Regions from separate parts of the Homo sapiens genome. Here region 2 is linked to region 1. Evidence: promoter capture Hi-C in 16 types of primary human blood cells and fetal thymus (Javierre and others, 2016). All regions are on one chromosome and are shown on one strand. Each heading gives the region's core, a stretch centred on a gene start or on the middle of the fragment in contact. The rest is flanking DNA. Distances are from core to core; before and after follow the strand shown.

Region 1 (3,652 bases), core at 134-2,633:
CTTTGTGAAGATACTGAGGGAAGAAAGTATTCTGAGGAATTGAAATCCGTTCAACATGGCTACAGCCATGCCCAACCTTTAAATGCAGGGTCAGAGAAAGGGCTCAACTGAAATGGCTGGCAGGAAAATCTACGTGTTATCAATAGTTAAGGTTAGGAGATGAAGGAGAATTTCACTAAAGAAGTTGAATATGTAAAATAGTTTAAGCAGGAAATAGAGGTTTCAGAAAGCACAGATGGGGTGTTGAGGGGTTAAATGGGGAAGAAACGAAGAAGCAGTGATAGCCTAAGTCGAAAGAAAGCACAAAGCAGCATGGAAATGAGACTATAGCACAGAAGACCACAGAAGCTTACATCTTGGGCGGTAACCAAGGATAACAGAGATGTAAAGCATGGTAAGTTTGGCTGGCCACAAGTATGCCTAGAGAATTAGTGCCAGCGGTCTCCTGTCGGCCACGGAGGCATTCAGGCCTCTCAAAATTCAGCTGCGCCCTGGATGGATTGTACTTCCGTCTCTATAGAAGACATCGGCTTCACTCTGGATTGATTGTGCAGGCTCCAGGAGAGGCTGTGGGTTCCAGGCTGCTGGAACGCAGGCTCCCAGGGAGTGGTTAGAGGCCTGGTCTGTATGTGCTGGTAGGCAGAAGTATAAATTACCTTGCATTACGTTCTGATTTTTCTGTAGGAATGGTGGGCATGTTATGGCCTCTTAGAGAAAAAGCAGTGCGTAGCCATTATAGATTTACAGGAAGAGAAAAGGTGCCAAGAAGATCAACACTTGTCCATACCCATACTAAAGATGAGTCATTCTGTGAATCCAACTCTCCCCAAGTTGACCTCGTCTCCCCAACTAGACTGAGATCTTCACCAGAAAACAAAACAAAACAAAACATAAAAGGTCTGTTTATTTTGTAGTTCCCAAAGTGCCTAATAGCTGGGTACCGTGAACACCTTCAGTAAAATTACCGACTTCCTGACTCCTCTCGGGTCACTGAAGTTACCTAGCTCAGTCGTCTTCTTGCATATTAAGGCGCTACAGAGAGGCGAACCCCTATCTTAGACTCAATACTTCCCTTTATTCCAAACTCCACTGCGTCTCTCCACCCTCAACCGCATGGGCAGAATTGTCACACAATTCAAAGGCAGGAGAATCCAGGACCCGACACAGAAAACTCCCGCCCACTCCCCCCCGTTTAGCAGCCCGCACACGCTCTGCATCCATCTCTGGGAAAGGTAAAAAGCGCTCACCGACTCTGGCCCTCCGGGAGACCCCGTAAATGCAGCCGTCCGCTCGCCGCCGTTATCCCAGGTAGGTACTTCCGGCGCGCGCAATGACGTTAGCGAAGCGCTCGCCTCTGGGCCCGCCTTCGGGGCCCGGATCTCAAACAGTCGGGAAGAAGCACCGTGGCTGCTATTATCTGCTCTCCGCGCCTGACCCCTCCCAGGACTCGTGATGCCAAGGCCGCTGCGAGCGGCTACGAAGAGTCGGGGTTGAGCCCCAGCTGAGCCGAGGGCTCGCACTCTTCTGGTCTCCCAGGCCCAACCCACCTGAAGGTAAACGCCTCCTCAGCTGCGGCCTTCTCTCCTGCGGGGCCCCCTCCCCAGACTCGGCTGCCAAAACGCTCTGCCCCTCTCTCCCGCCACCCTTTTTATTCCAGGACCTTAACCTCTGCCTGCCTTCGCGGCTCTCAGCAGAACGTGTAACGCATAGTTTCAAATGAGAAACTTAAAAAGCGACGTATCTATGTTGAGTTCCTGAAGTTTTCTAAATAATTCCCCCATAACACCAAACATGAGGCAGTTTTCTCATTCCTTCACGAATTGGCATGCCATAGAGTCAGTATTTTTCCATTTGTGATGGTTGATCTTCCCATCTCAAATACACACCGCACGCTCTTTTTAAATCAGAAATTTGAATTTGGTTGAGCCTGATATTTTCACGGTAATTTGCTGACTTTGTAAGATAAGATGTGAAAATTACTGATTACATTTGTAAACTTTATATACATATACACACATACCTACAGGTCTGTCTCTTCGAGGCACCAAGCCTATTTATATAATGTATCATTTCATAATTTGGCAATAAGCAAAATTAGCGTTTCGAAAGAAGTTTATATTGTCGATACATAAAGCTTAAATTTACTCCTTAACATCATACTAAAAGGGGAAAAGAAAATTTTCCTCTTAACACACCACTCCAGAGAAAAAAAATATTAAGACAAGCAAAAAAGGTACCCAGCCATAGTACAGGCATGCACAGCATAACAACTTTTTGATTAACAACAAACCACATATACCACAGTGGTCTCCTAAGAGTGTAATACATTGTACCATATTTTTAGTGTACGTTTTCTGTGTTTAGCTATGTAAATATTTACCATTGTGTTTCAACTGTCTACATTATTCACTACATTAACATGCTGTACAGGTTGTAGCCTAGGAGCAATAGGCTAGACCATCTAGGTTTGTCTCAGTACACCCTGTGATGTCTGCACTGTGAAATCACGTAACACTCAGAACATACCTCCTTCATTAAGCATAGCATGACTGTGTATTAGCAAAAATCAGTGGCTAAGGTTCTGTCTGAGTCCCCATGCTCTTTCTGACCTGGGTGAGCAAGGTGCAGGTAATGTACATATACAGTACATATTCAATAGAGCATTTTTTTTGCTCATGGTCTGAGTGGAAGTTAGGAGTAGCCTCAGGGTTTTTCCTTCATCTGTTCAAAACCCGTCTCCCTACCCATACAATCTGGCACTGAAAGTGTTGGTATAAAGAATACTTGAAAGAAGAAGAACCAAAAAAGAATTTTTTTTAAGTGGTGACTGGGAAAAAGGAATTCCTTAATTCAGCCTGCTGGAGTCATTGTTCCTAACTTCCTAAAATGTAAGGAAGGTGTACACATCTGGCATAATTAAATCGGTGATTGTTAATACTTTATTGGTTTTTGTTTTTTGTTTTTTTCCAAATAATACCCAGACTGGTCTGATGTATTGGTTTTATTTGGAATTAATAATACTTGGTTTAGGCCAGGTGTGGTGATTCATGCCTGTAATCCCAGCACTTTGGGAGGCTGAGGCAGGTGGATCATTTGAGGTCAGGAGTTCAAGACCAGCCTGACCAACATGGTGAAACACTGTCTCTACTAAAAATACAAAATTAGCCAGGCATGGTAGTGGATGCCTATAATCCCAGCTACTCGGGAGGCTGAGGCAGGATAATTGCTTGAACCTGGGAAGCAGAGGTTGCAGTGAGCCGAGATCACGCCATTGCACCCCAGCCTGGGCAACAAGAGGGAAACTCCGTCTCAAACAACAAAAAAAGAATCCTGGTTTAGACTGATTGCTGATAAGTTTGTTTTCACTTTTAGAAATGAGTGGTGGATTGGCTCCAAGTAAGAGCACAGTGTATGTATCCAACTTGCCTTTTTCCCTGACAAACAATGACTTGTACCGGGTAAGTAAATCTTATCGAGTGACTGCTATTTGAGATACAGATAACCTTAAGCAAATAGTTCTCCCTGGCAAATTCTTTTTTCCTTTTTTTTTTTTTCTTTTTTTGAGACAGTCTAATTCTGTCACTGAGGCACGAGGCTGTAGTGCAGTGGCACTATCATGGCTCACTGCAGCCTCCCCGCCCCCTCAGGTGAT
Region 2 (3,557 bases), core at 707-3,206, 1.4 Mb before region 1:
GTGGCAGTGGTCCAATTAAAGCAAAAGCAGACAGTCAAAAGCAAGGGCATGGCTGCAGGTTTTTGGGATGCTCAAGGTATTTTGCTTGCTGACTTTCTGGAGGGAAAAAGAATGGTAACATCTGCTTATTAGAGAGGGTTTTGAGAAACAGTAGCTTTTCTAAGTGTTTCTAAACTAAAGCTTTTCTGTTACAGCTTTAGTCAAATGTTTAGCAGAAAAACACCTGGGAAAGCTTCACCACAGAGTCCTTCTCCATCACAATGCCCCTGCTCTTTTCTCTCATCAAACAAGGGCAATTCTGTGAGTTTCAACTGGAAATCATTAGGCATCCACCTTACAGTCCTGATTTGTCTCCTTCTGACTTCTTTTTGTTTCCCAATCTTGAAAAATCTTCATAGAGCACCCATTTTTCTTCAGTTAATAATGTAAAAAAGACTTCATTGATGTGGTTAAATTCCCAGGACTCTCAGTTCTTTAGGGATGGCCCAAATGGCTGGTGTTATCGCTTACAAAAGTGTCTTGAACTTCATGGGCTTATGTTCAGAAATAAAGTTTACAGTTTTGTTTTTGTTTTTGGAGTCTTGCTCTATCATCCAGGCTGTAGTGCAGTGGTGCAATTTTGGCTTACTGCAACCTCTGCCTCCCAGGTTTAAGCGATTCTCCTGCCTCAGCCTCCCAAGTAGCTGGGATTACAGGTGTGCACCACCACACCCAGCTAATTCTTGTATTTTTGGTAGAGATGGGGTTTCGCCATGTTGACCAGGCTGGTCTTGAACTCCTGACCTCAGGTGATCTGCCCACCTCGGCCTCCCAAAGTGCTGGGATTACAGGTATGAGCCATAGTGCTGAGCCAAAGTTTACATTTTTTATCTTTTAATTCAATTTTTCCACAAACTTTTTGAAATGCCCTCATACAAATTAAGAGCATATACACATATACAGTTGAAGCAACAATAAAATGAGGTTGCCTATTAGGAATGCTTAGAATGGAAAGGAATGATGTGAAAGAAGAATTTTAAAAAATACTGCTTAGTCATGAAGGCAAGAAAAAAACCAGGATGGTAGCATACCAGAGACTTCTAGAAAAGGTGGCAGGTTGGTATAAAAGACTCAGAGAGGTCAAATAGACACTGATGGATATGTTAGACTCTGAAATCAGAAGGCCATTGGTGACTTGGGAACAGCTATAGTGAAAAAGTGAGTGAATGGCAAAAACAGATTTTCCAAGAAGTCTGGTTATGAAGGGAAGGAGAAAGAGAGAGAGAGGAGTATGAGGGGAGGGAAAATGGGGGTGGAGGGGTAGGGAAAGAGAGGGAGGAGAGCATGCAAGAGAGTAGCAGTTTTCAAATTTGGTCTCAGGACCTTTTACCCTCTTAAAAACTATTGTAGACCCCAAAGGGCTTTTGTTTATGTTGGTTATATCTACCAATATTTACCATAATAAATTGATGCTGAGAAACTTAAAAATTACTTATTAATTCATTTAAAATAATCATAAATATAGATGTTAGCATATATATTTTAATAAAATAATTACCTTTTCCTCAAAAACAGAAGAACAACATTGTTTTAAAGTTTTGCTAATCTCTTCAATATTTAACTTAATAGAAGAGAGCTGAATTCTTGTATCTGCTTCTGCACTCAACCCACTGCAGCATGTTGTTTTGGTTGATGTATATGAAGAAAATCCAGCTTCACACAGACATATAGTTATAAAGAAAGGTGTATTTTAATAGCCTTTTCACAAAGTAGTAGATATTTCTCTTTGATACTACACTAAAATTTGACAAGAAATAACTTCCTAAAGGTAAGCTGCAATGAGGAATCTGAAGCTGTATAAATTAACTTGGAACATTAAAATCCATTGCACTCTGAATGAATCTTTTAACTAAACATGATTTTGACCTTACAAATCTCCTGAAAGAGCATTAGGGACTCCAACCAGACTTTTGAGAACTGTTGGTGTTAAGGGTTTAAGACTTAAGCTGTTTGGCAATACAAATGGGATAATGAATAGCATATAGGGTGAAGAAATCAGCCTTGAATAGAGAGAAACCTCTTTTGAATCTAGAAAGAAGGAAGCAGAGGTTTAAATACAGATATATTTGAAGGGAGAAGAGTTCCCACATACTGTTATTTTTTCTGTGAAACAGGAAATGAAGTCATCTAGGGCCAGGTAAAAGAATAGCCCACATACCTTAAAGGCCACCTGGTAAATGCCTATTATTCCTTCAAGCCCAATTCAAAAGGCACTGTTAGCTTCCCCTGATTGTCATCTCTTTTGCTCCAAAATGTCACCTAGTCATTCTTCTGTTATAATAATTATTATGTTTTACTGTTTATGTGTTTGCTTTCTCTGTTAGATGGGTGCTCTCCTGAGCTAGGACCCAACCAAATTCACCTCAGCAACGACTCACAACATTTGTGTTGAATGAAAGGCTGATGACTTTTTAACTTTAATTAAGAAATTGTATCTAGGTTGCCTATAGACTCTGCAGTTGCTCTCTTCAAGTTATTTTTCCTTACTAAGATTTCTCTCTACTGTAAGGTACAACATGATTGACAAAGCTAGACAAGATAGAACTGCTTAGTAGTCTTATAAATTAGAGCAAAATACAAGGAATTGAGGAAAAAACCCAGACTATCTAAAGGCCAGGGATAAATTTGGTAGCTCTCCTGCACCCAGGCTTCCAGCAGAGGTGATAAGTGTAGGGATACTAGGAAAAAGAAGGCCTTCTGCAACTCCTCCACACATGTGCCCAGAAGTTCAAAATCCCAGAAATTAAAATTTTACTTTAAATGTATATTCATATACCACTCCCAACCACATACTTACAAGAACATAAGCCAAAATATTAACGTGGTTATCCCTTGGTGATGACTTTTATGATAGTTTTGTTTTCATTTTGCTTTTCTGAATTTTCAATAATGAAAACAGACTGGGCAAAAAAAAACTTAAAAAGTGTCATCTCTTTCAAATTCTTCAAGATTTACTTTAGTACACTTAGGATTAACACAGGTGGAACAGGATATGTTGCTTACAAATAAGTAAATACCTTCATGACTGTTTCCTCATACCACTAACTCTCATAGTAAAGAAAACCCATTCATATTTTCAAGTAAGACAATTCAGACAAGTGTAAAAGGTGGGGTGGTGATTGAGAAATATATTAAAATAAGCACCTGCTTATGGAATCCAATGCCTTCCCAAAGTACTGTGCCCAAAACAGGAGGGCAAAAGATTCTTGTCAAATGTGTTAATAAAGTTTTAAGACTGCTTCATTAGCACTTTGATCAGAGGAAAAGATTGTGCAGGGGTGGAGGGAAGATGAACTTTGAGGTTGCACAGGCCTAAGTTCTAACCAAAGCCAACTGTGACCAGAGCTAGTAAATACATTTCTCTGCACCTTGCTTTTCTTTATCTGAAAAACAGAGATAGTAATACCTAAGAATTGCTGTAAGAATTAAAATCAACACATGCAAAGGGCCAAATCTTGTCACATAATAATAGGTGGTCAAAAAAAAAAAGGAGCAATTATTATTTCCTGGCAGAAATT

The links. Contacts are between HindIII fragments. The CHiCAGO score rates a contact against its expected background, and 5 or more counts as called.
Region 2: a fragment that was not itself captured here is called in contact with the fragment with the promoter of ZCRB1 in region 1 in 1 of 17 cell types (fetal thymus); the score reaches 5.5 in fetal thymus.

What each region holds. Positions count from the first base shown.
Region 1 is chr12:42,323,825-42,327,476 of GRCh38, reverse strand. It overlaps ZCRB1 (zinc finger CCHC-type and RNA binding motif containing 1), which reads left to right and starts at 1,383. Exons shown (of 8, transcript NM_033114.4): 1 at 1,383-1,553; 2 at 3,373-3,458. The coding sequence starts at 3,375. PPHLN1 (periphilin 1) reads right to left here and starts at 1,310. Exons shown (of 10, transcript NM_201439.2): 1 at 1,248-1,310. It overlaps MIR7851 (microRNA 7851), which reads left to right and starts at 3,618; the gene lies at 3,618-3,652. RefSeq lists an enhancer at 1,638-1,687. The HindIII fragment of the contact is 1,786 bases long and covers 351-2,136 here.
Region 2 is chr12:43,761,437-43,764,993 of GRCh38, reverse strand. The region is part of intron 1 of IRAK4 (interleukin 1 receptor associated kinase 4); the gene reads right to left. Among named protein-coding and RNA genes, the nearest start is that of IRAK4, 4.3 kb to the right of the region's middle. The HindIII fragment of the contact is 3,443 bases long and covers 235-3,557 here.